Regions from separate parts of the Homo sapiens genome. Here regions 2 and 3 are each linked to region 1. Evidence: promoter capture Hi-C in 16 types of primary human blood cells and fetal thymus (Javierre and others, 2016). All regions are on one chromosome and are shown on one strand. The core of a region is centred on a gene start or on the middle of the fragment in contact, and the rest is flanking DNA. Distances in the headings are between cores, read along the strand shown. Region 1 has its middle 66 kb from the start of SLN. Region 2 holds the start of ALKBH8 (alkB homolog 8, tRNA methyltransferase). Region 3 holds the start of ELMOD1 (ELMO domain containing 1).

The links. Contacts are between HindIII fragments. The CHiCAGO score rates a contact against its expected background, and 5 or more counts as called.
Region 2: the fragment with the promoter of ALKBH8 here is called in contact with a fragment that was not itself captured in region 1 in 1 of 17 cell types (endothelial precursors); the score reaches 5.4 in endothelial precursors.
Region 3: the fragment with the promoter of ELMOD1 here is called in contact with a fragment that was not itself captured in region 1 in 1 of 17 cell types (endothelial precursors); the score reaches 6.7 in endothelial precursors.

What each region holds. Positions count from the first base shown.
Region 1 is chr11:107,776,672-107,779,717 of GRCh38, reverse strand. No RefSeq gene overlaps it. Among named protein-coding and RNA genes, the nearest start is that of SLN, 66 kb to the right of the region's middle. The HindIII fragment of the contact is 1,273 bases long and covers 927-2,199 here.
Region 2 is chr11:107,564,151-107,567,196 of GRCh38, reverse strand. ALKBH8 (alkB homolog 8, tRNA methyltransferase) reads left to right here and starts at 1,462. Exons shown (of 12, transcript NM_138775.3): 1 at 1,462-1,596. RefSeq lists enhancers at 1,170-1,229, 1,076-1,592, 1,300-1,789, 1,593-2,111. The HindIII fragment of the contact is 7,705 bases long and covers 1-3,046 here.
Region 3 is chr11:107,589,510-107,592,555 of GRCh38, reverse strand. It overlaps ELMOD1 (ELMO domain containing 1), which reads right to left and starts at 1,409. Exons shown (of 12, transcript NM_018712.4): 1 at 1,147-1,409. RefSeq lists an enhancer at 907-966 and silencers at 1,217-1,356, 1,417-1,526. The HindIII fragment of the contact is 4,180 bases long and covers 1-2,796 here.

The DNA.
Region 1 (3,046 bases), core at 314-2,813:
CCCAGCATTTTCGGAGACTGAGGCAGGTGGATCACCTGAAGTCAGGAGTTCGAGACCAGCCTGGCCAACATGGTGAAACCAGGTCTCTACTAAAAATACAAAAATTAGCTGGGCGTGGTGGCTCGTGCCTGTAATCCCAGCTGCTTGGGAGGCTGAGGCAGGAGAATTGCTTGAACCCAGGAGACAGAGGTTGCAGTGAGCCAACACAGTGCCACTGCACTCCAGCCTCGGCGACAGAGTGAGACTCTGTCTCAAAAAAAACCAAAAACCAAAAACAAACAAAGAATTGGGGTCTCAGAAAAGTTGAAATATCTGTCTCAGGTCACACAGAGTTTGGTGGCTAAGGTAAAAACAGAAACCAGGATTTTAACCTTTCAGTTTAGTCAGCAGCCAAAGTCTCCGCTCTGTAAATTCTGAAGGGGTCATGGTTGCTGTGGCACTGCTGAGACAGCAAATACAAATGCATCTCTAATGAGAGCTGTTGGGATGATTTTCTTGGAAAAACTAGCTTGGTAATACAGTTTTATCTGCAACGCTGGGGGCTGCCCTTTTAAGAAGCTGTCTACAGTTTGTCTCTGTGAGGTCTTACGTATGCCTAGTCACGATTCTCTTTTCTGTCATAATTATGGTGATGTGCCATTTCATCTACATTTAATCACTTAGTATCTGGACATATCCTCAGCCTTCAAAATACATCAATAAATCAGGGAAATTTAGCAGATAGCCACTTAGCTGATTAAAAGGCAAGAGATTTATGAGGAAATTAGATAATGCTGACCATGCAGTTCTCTAGTAGTCCTTTAAAGGGTGTTTTGAGAAGTCTGGCAATATATAAATGGTGCATTAGAGGAAGCAAAGCCTCTTCAGAACGACAAAATTTTACCCATCCTTCATGCACAAACCTGTAGGATTTAATGTTCCAAGCTTTCTTCTCCCAATGCTCAAACTTTTACAATGTACCTTAATCCTCGGTTTAAATACTTTCCTCTTCTAGCAATCTTTTCTTTTCTTTTCTTTTCTTTTGAGACGGAGTTTTGCTCTTGTTGCCCAGGCTGGAGTGCAATGGTGCAGTCTCGTCTCATCGCAACCTCCGCCTCCCGGGTTCAAGCAATTCTCCTGCCTCAGCCTCCTGAGTAGCTGGGATTACAGGCATGCATCACCATGCCCAGCTAATTTTGTGTTTTTAGTAGAGATGAGGTTTCTCCATGTTGGTCAGGCTGGATCTCGAACTCCCAACCTCAGGTGATCTGCCTCCTTGACCTCCCAAAGTGCTGGGATTACCGGTGTGAGCCACTGCACCCGGCCTCTTCCAGCAATCTTAATTTAAAATGTGAACACTTTTGGAGAAGGAAATGAAAGAATTCGTACCAATTTTAAGAGGCCATTTGAACAATTATTAGCTCCAACTGACCATAAACAAGCATTCAGATGGTTCCATATATGCCTCACTCAATCAGCTATTACATTCACTGCCTGCCCATTGGGGAGGCCACAGTCTGTACACAATGTGTGATGTAGAGAACTTGTAGTGCTAGTAGCTGGGGTTTCCATGCTGTCTTTTTCCATTTATGCTGCTATAACAGAACACCCAGAAAGTTCATTCCTTCTTACACCATGAGAGGACACAGTGTATCTACAAGCCAGGAAGAGTGACTTCACCAGACATGGATTCTGTTGGCAGCTTGATCTTGGACTTCCCAGCCTCCAGGACTGTGAGAAATAAATTTCTGTTGTTCATGAGCCAGCTAATCTATAGTATTTTTGTTATGGCAGTGTGAATGGACCAAGACATGCCTTATTCTGCTTTGCAGTGTATCAAAATCTCAATGGAATGGGAAAGGTCAGAAACAAACACTTTTTACATATTCAACATAGAACCAAACATAAAGCCTTAAAAATAACAGGAACTCAGTAATATTGCATTTGTATTTGTTGATTAACTATGCTTTTTCCTATGTTCTATCAGATCCTAAACTTGTGAATCACTACTTTTTGTTTGGGTAAGTAGTAATAATCCTACCATGTAACAAAGCAAAAAGTGATTTAATATTCAAGACATTGCCCAAATATGATATCTCTAAATTGCATATTAATCTTTTCCAGGAAGTCTTTCTTGGCATAACGTAAATGGGACAGAACAAAGAATTTTAGAAGATGCTTGATGAGGAAGTGCTACTCCTATTTAGAAAAAGGAAAGCTTAATTCAATAGGTTATATTTTCTATGGTTGGAACACATGCTATTGACAAATGACAAAGTAAATAGAAGGGGAGTGAGAGGAACATATGATTATTCCGGTGTTAACATGAATGTTTGTGAAAATGACTATATTTGGGAGCCAGAATCTGCATATCTGAGTAGATGATTCACACTCTTACAGACTCTGCAGACGACTGCTTAGGATTGAAGAAACAGGTTCTATCATTAAAAAGCTGGATGATCTAGGGTGATGCTTTTTCACTTCCCTTTCATAACTCTCATTGATCTAACAATAGTATGTGCCTGGCAATGGACTGTTTTTTAAAAACATACATTGTCTTATATAAACTTCACATCTTAAGGAGGCATATACTATTTATATCTCCATTTAACCAATGAGGAAATGAAGGCTTGTACCAGGCAGGATAGAATTAGGTTATGCTACTATAACAAACAACACCAAATATCTTATTGGCTTAAAACAAGATTTAATTTTTGGCTGGCTGGGCATGGTGGCTCATACCTGTAATCCCAGCACTTTGGGAGGCCAAGGTGGGAGGACTGCTTGTGCCCAGGAGTACAAGACCAGCCTGGGCAACATAGTGAGATACAAAAAATAAAAAATTAGCTGGGCATGGTGGCACACATCTATAGTTCCAGCTACTTGAGAAGTTTAGGTGGGAGGATTGTTTGAGCCTAGAAGGTTGTGGCTACAGTGGGCCCTAATTACACCACTGCACTCCAGCCTGAGTGACAGACCAAGACCCTGTCAAAAAAAATTATTTTTTGGCCATACTACAGTTCCACTGTGGGCTCCAGATTTTGGTCACTTCCCTGACACAGGCCTG
Region 2 (3,046 bases), core at 213-2,712, 210 kb after region 1:
TAGACTATTGCAATGCTTGCCTATCTGCCTCTTCTGTTCTTTCATGTTTGTAACCTATTCTCCACACAAATCATTCCGCCACTCAACAGCACTCTTTTTTCACTGCCACTTTTCCTGGTCAGCCAGCTATTTTATTGTTAGTCCACTGTGGTGCACTGCAGATAGGGGCCATTGTATCAACAACATGGGAAGGTGATTCCTCTTCCCCTACACCTTTCCCTCCCTGCACTCACATAGCTCATAAACCAATGCAGGTAGAAGGATTATGGTACATTTATATAACAAATAACAGAGCAGGAACAACTGCTAATCATCACCCTCTCCTTTGTCTTTTACTTATGATCTGTTACCAGCTCTTTTTTCTTTCCCTCTGCCACTACTGGGCTTGTTAATATTTCGTTACTTTTCACTTCATCAGTCATCTTCTAGTCTCTCCTCCCACTTGCCACAAGAAGCTCTGGTCATATCATTTCATTTCTCTAACCTTCCTCCCTGCAACTCCCACTCTGCAGGCCTACAGAATTCTGTCTTGCTTCCTTCACCATTCTTCCACACATCTTTCTATTACTCTGTGGTACTCACCATTCCCCTGGCACATTCATGCATATTCACTTCCTTCCCTCCCGCCCATGCAATGCCATCTTTCAGACCCCAGGATCCTCTCCCATATCTCTGTGAACCCTGAATATCTGAGACAGGTCTCAGACAATTTAGGAAATTTATTTTGCCAAAGTTAAGGACGCCCGCCCGTGACACAGCCTCAGGAGGTCCTGATGATATGTGTCCAGGGTGGTCGGGGCACAGCTTGGTTTTATACATTTTAGGGAGACATGAGGCATCAATCAATATATGTAAGATGAACATTGGTTCCGTCCAGAAAGGAGGGACAAATTGAAGCAGAGGCGGGCCAACTCAAAGTGAGGAGGGGGCTTCCAGGTCGCACGTATTACAGCTGAGAGACAAATGGTTGCATTCTTTTGAGTTTCTGATGAGCCTTTCCAAAGGAGGCAATCAGATATGCATTTATCTCAGTGAGCAGAGGGATGACTCAGAGGGATGACTTTGAATAGAATGGGAGGCAGGTTTGCCCAAGCAGTTCCTAGCTTGACTTTTCCCTTTAGCTTAGTGATTTTGTGGCACCAAGATTTATTTTCCTTTCTCACCTCTAATAAGATTCAGGAGGAAATATGCACGAAGAATAGAAGGTGCCAGGGGACATTGCTGAAAGACCAAAGGGCCCAAACCTGTTTGACCTTGTCCATTTGGAGAGCAACAGATAAAAATATAGCTGCACTACCAATTATTACTACTCCCCCCAAAAAGACAACTGAATTTTCAGTGTAACAGACAGCACTTTACAAAGACACTTGGTCGAAAAAGGGTCACTCCCGGGCTCTGGGAGGCGAAGAGGACTGTGGGAGCGCTGTTCGTTGTCCCGCGGGCTCATGGGAAATGTAGTGCAGTTTTCTCCAACATGGCCGCGCCCAGGGGAGATGGCGTGCAAGTATCCGCTGCGGTGTTCTGGTGCTAGAGTGGAGAGGCTGGCAAAGAAGAAGGCACACGCATGGTGAGAATCCGGCCTGAGCCGAAGCGGAGGTGTGTGGCACTTCTTACTGGCGGGCATACGGGCAGCAAATCACCGCTTCCTCTTTTCAGCCTCTTCCGGTCTTCTCTATCCGCCTTGCCAGCTAGGGCTGAGAACCTAGGGAAAGGGGATGGATCCCAGAGGCGCCCTTGGTGCAGTGTGGGCAGTAGGGTGTCTGCGTTGGGTGGTTCTCTCAGTGTTTAGGGTGCATGTGTTTGTGTTTGGTTCGGGCGCTCACGTGGTGCCTGTGTCAATCTTCTGTTTTCTTTGGGGTTGGAGAGGACGGTTGCAACATGGGGCGTGTTAGTGTGGCGCTTCTGGGGCTTTTCTGACCGGTGACAATCGGTCTGATTGCATCGATGCAAAGGCAGTGCTGATGATCTGATCCCTTGCGCAGCTGAGTCTTCCTGTGCTCTTATTTGAGCAATCCCTGCGACTCCTGGACCTCTGGTAGCGTCAGCCTGTTATTTTGATAGATTTCATTGAATATTTATTGTCAGTTGTATGTCAGGCACCAAGTCTGTGCCCTTAAATAGATGACAGTTTTCTGGCCGAAGCCCAACACAAACAGGCAATTATAATACCATGTGAGAACTCTAGAGATAGAGGTCCATGCTAGGTGTTAATGAAAACGTTGAAGAAGGCCACCAAACTCAGAATTCTGGAGGAGGGGAGGTTTAGGAGGTAAGACAGCAAAGTCGATTTAGGTTTATTCGACAAATGGTTATTGAGTGGCTGCTAGGTGCTAAATCCTGTTTAAGTGCTGGGTGCTACAGGGTGAACAATAGAGACAAAATCTCTACTTCATGGAGTGAGTGTTCTTTATTCAGTTATGGGGAAAGACAGAATAAACAAATTAATGAGAGTGTAAGAAAATATGTAGTAAGTGTTATTCAAAGAGTTAAAACGGGGTGCCGTGACAAGTGATGGGGTGAATTTTTTTCTAAAAATTTTAAATCTTTATTTTCTTTTTAAATAGATGATGCAGTTTAAATAGCTACTAACTTCAAAAGTCATGAAAGAAGAAAGCTCCCTTTCATTCCTTTACTCATCGATCCATTTTCCTTCCCTGGAGGCAACCCATATCACCAATTTCTTGTGTGTCCTAAAGATTTATATGTAAACTCTGTATACCAGTGCCGTACGTTAAAATTGGGCCTCGTTTGATAGGAAGTTAGATTCTTTCTAATCTTTGCTATTAATTATTAGGTTGTGCAAAAGTAATCATGGTTTTTGCATTTTTTTAAACATATAAGTATAGGAACATTTGTCTATACTGCTTGTTTCATAATAGGCTCTCTATTATTCAAGGAGGGCATGATGTACATACTACTATTACCACGTAGGGCAATATCTAGTAGGATATATTGGCTTTAAACTCACTAACAAGCAAGTAGCAGAGCATGCATAATCTCCAAACTTTCATTATCCCACAGAGAGTACGCTTAGGCTGGAGCTGGC
Region 3 (3,046 bases), core at 160-2,659, 190 kb after region 1:
GTTGTCATAATAGGTTAATGAATTAAGACATTTATCCCAATACAAGCATACTACCTGCTTTCCACCATATTGGCAGCACCAGTTAAGGACGGTTGTCAAGCCACCGGCACAAAACGTATACATTGCAGAGATGCAGAACAATGCCTGGATGCCTGCCCAAAATTGGTCTCTCCAAATGACAGACTCAATTGATAGTACCAATCTACGGCCCACTGGGGGTTAGCAGCGTATTTTCCTAGGTGGTGGGGGAAAGGGATGAAATGTGGAAAGCTCAGGGCACTGTGCAGAGCAGAAAGGCTGACAACATATTCATTAAACTTGATCTGAAGCAAGTGAGCCCGTGAGGTCGTTCCTGAAATATTCATAAGATGTGTTACCGAACTCGCCGCTTAGAGGTTGAGCATAAACACTGAGTCAGAACAGCCCGTACCCACACTTGGAAAACAAAAAAAAGCACCCACAACAGCTCACCCCACCACCACACTCCACTGCTCTGCTTTTAACAGCCCCGTCAGCTGTCAGCTGTCACTCCCCACTCGGCTGTCCAATTCTACCTGCCCGGGAAAGAGATGCTCCAATATTGAAGTGCGGAGTTTCCCAGCAGTTGGAGGAGGCGCAGCTCAACAGCCCAGCCGACCGCTCCTCCCAGCTCGCTGCGCGGAGGACCCCACAGTCCGGCGGCCCCGCAGCCCGGCTGCCTAGCTCCTCCCTGGAGACCGAAGCCCACAAGGCAAGGGGTTCCCAGGGACCCAGACCAGCCCCTCGCCCCAGCCAGGCCGCCCTTGTCCCGCCTTCCATTTTGGCTCTGTCTGGGATCCCTTCCCCGAGCCCTCGGCGTTAGGTCGCTAGGCGACCTACGCCCGGGCCGAGATGCAAACAGCCTCTCGCGCCGACCTGCAGCCTCTCGGGTGTTAATTGGGAGGACAGGATAGAAGGGGAAATCACTGTCCTGGGTGACCCCGGAGCCCCTGCACCAAGGCAGAGTGCACTTTCATTCCCGTTCCCTCTCTGCCCCCGATGCTTAGCATTTCTGCTGCCTCCCAGGCACAGCGCAGCTTGCGTGATGCCTCGCGTCCTCGCCGCACCTCTCTCCTCCCCAAGGGCATTCGCCCCTACTCCCTAGGCTCCTCTGGGGTCGCCAATCACCTGGACTCTGGCGGCGGTAGGCTCAGCAGCTCCCGGCGCGCGGCGGCGTGGTCTTCATCTCCGCCTTCCCCAGGCGCTCCGGCTACGCGCTCCGCGGCGGCGAGCGACGCGCTCGGTCCCGGGCGCCGAGGCTGGACAGGGGCGGCCGCGGCTGCCGCACTGGCTGCGGGCGCGGAAGGGGCGGGGGCGGGGCAGGAATCTGGGTCGCGTGGAGCGGAGCAAGCCGGGATGCACCCGGGGCGGCTGGCGGCGAGGAGGCGACCGAGAGCAGCGGGGGAGGGCGTGCAGAGGCTTCCCTGGGAGCACGAAGCGGGCGGCTACTGAGCATGCCCAGTCCGGGAGCCGGGGGCGCGGGCGCGGTGCTGGGGGAGAGAGCGCGGCACCCAGTGCCGGAATCTGGGGGGAAAGGGTTAAATCTGCGGACCCCGCTGCTGTGGGAGGTGGCTGGTGTGGCCCAGTTTAATTGCTCCCGGGTGGCCTCCCTGGAGGAGCCCACGACAGGAAGATGGTGAACCTGAGATGACCTGTCAATGGGATTCCCAGACAGTCCGGGCAAGGTGTGTTCCCCGCCCTCTCCCTGGATAATTGTCCAGAAGTCAAACTTTGTTTTAGTTCAGCTCCAACCTCCCTCGTCTCACCGAGCACCCAGTGACTCTTCCAATCCTGATCCCCACCCTTCACCTGCCTTCCCGGGACTGCAGAACCCTATCCCTCACCCCAACCGGCAGCCCCCGCCTTTCCCACTCCTGGCCCAGTCGGGTCAGATTCTCAAAGAGCCAGCTCTTTAATTAGGTGTAATTGAGAGATCGTGTCAATCCTGCGAGGTCCATATCTGCATTTCAACAAGGGCTTTAGAAGCAATACCGTAACCCCGGGGTTAATTATAACAGGATGAATTATAGACACCCTCGTCCGGGGCTGTTTGGGGGAACATTGCTTCGTGGGGCCCCAGAAGCCACTTCATACAGACAGAGAGAGAGAGAGAGAGAGAGAGAGAGAGAGAGAGAGAGAGAGAGAGAGAGAGAGAGAGAGAGAGAGAGAGAGAGAGAGAGAGAGAGAGAGAGAGAGAGAGAGAGAAACCTGTGCCTTCCGGATTGCATTTCATGTTTGATGAAGAACGTTTTCTCCATAGCTAATCAAAAAAGTCTCTTTAATGAGGCCGCATGGGGTTGGGGAAAGACCAAATGAGCTTCGAGGTCGGCGCTTATTTTAGTTTCATTCATCACTCCAAGCCGGTTACCTGACCGTCTTGTGCCTCTGTTTCCTCACCTGTAAAACAAAGGGTGGTTAATACCTACCTCTGCGGGCTGTTGTGAGGATTACTTGGGCAGCTGGCGGCGCGGAGCAGCCTGGATACCAAAGCATCTGCCTGTCCCGCAGTGGATGTTCCCTGAATAAAAGTCTCTGCAGGTTCCACCTCCACTATTCTGTGTTTATGAAAAGTTGGGTTAGTGATAATCCTTAAATGCTGAACATTTATCTTATTTCCTCTTCACATTAAATGACCTTAAAGCCTTGACCTTTCTGATTTTTTTAATCATTGTTAAAAGCATTAGCCACTATTTACTTTTCTTTCTTTTCAGGGAGATATGAAGGATACCTCCCTGAATAAACGTCTTGGAAAAAGATAGACCTTTGGAGGGAAAAGCTTCTCGGGAGAGATTCATTAGGGATAGATTAATCCACCTGACAAAAGAATTTTACTCCATAGTCTTTTAAACGTAATTTGCTTGCATCTCCCTGTGGTCCTTGTTTCACAACTATTGCATGAAGTAATGTATGCCTGTATGGAAGGAAATTTACTTCCCATGCATACTGTTGACTATTTAAGTATCAGAATTCAAAAGATAAACTTTTTATTATCCCCCAAACATACTATTTTTTTAATAACACATTGCTT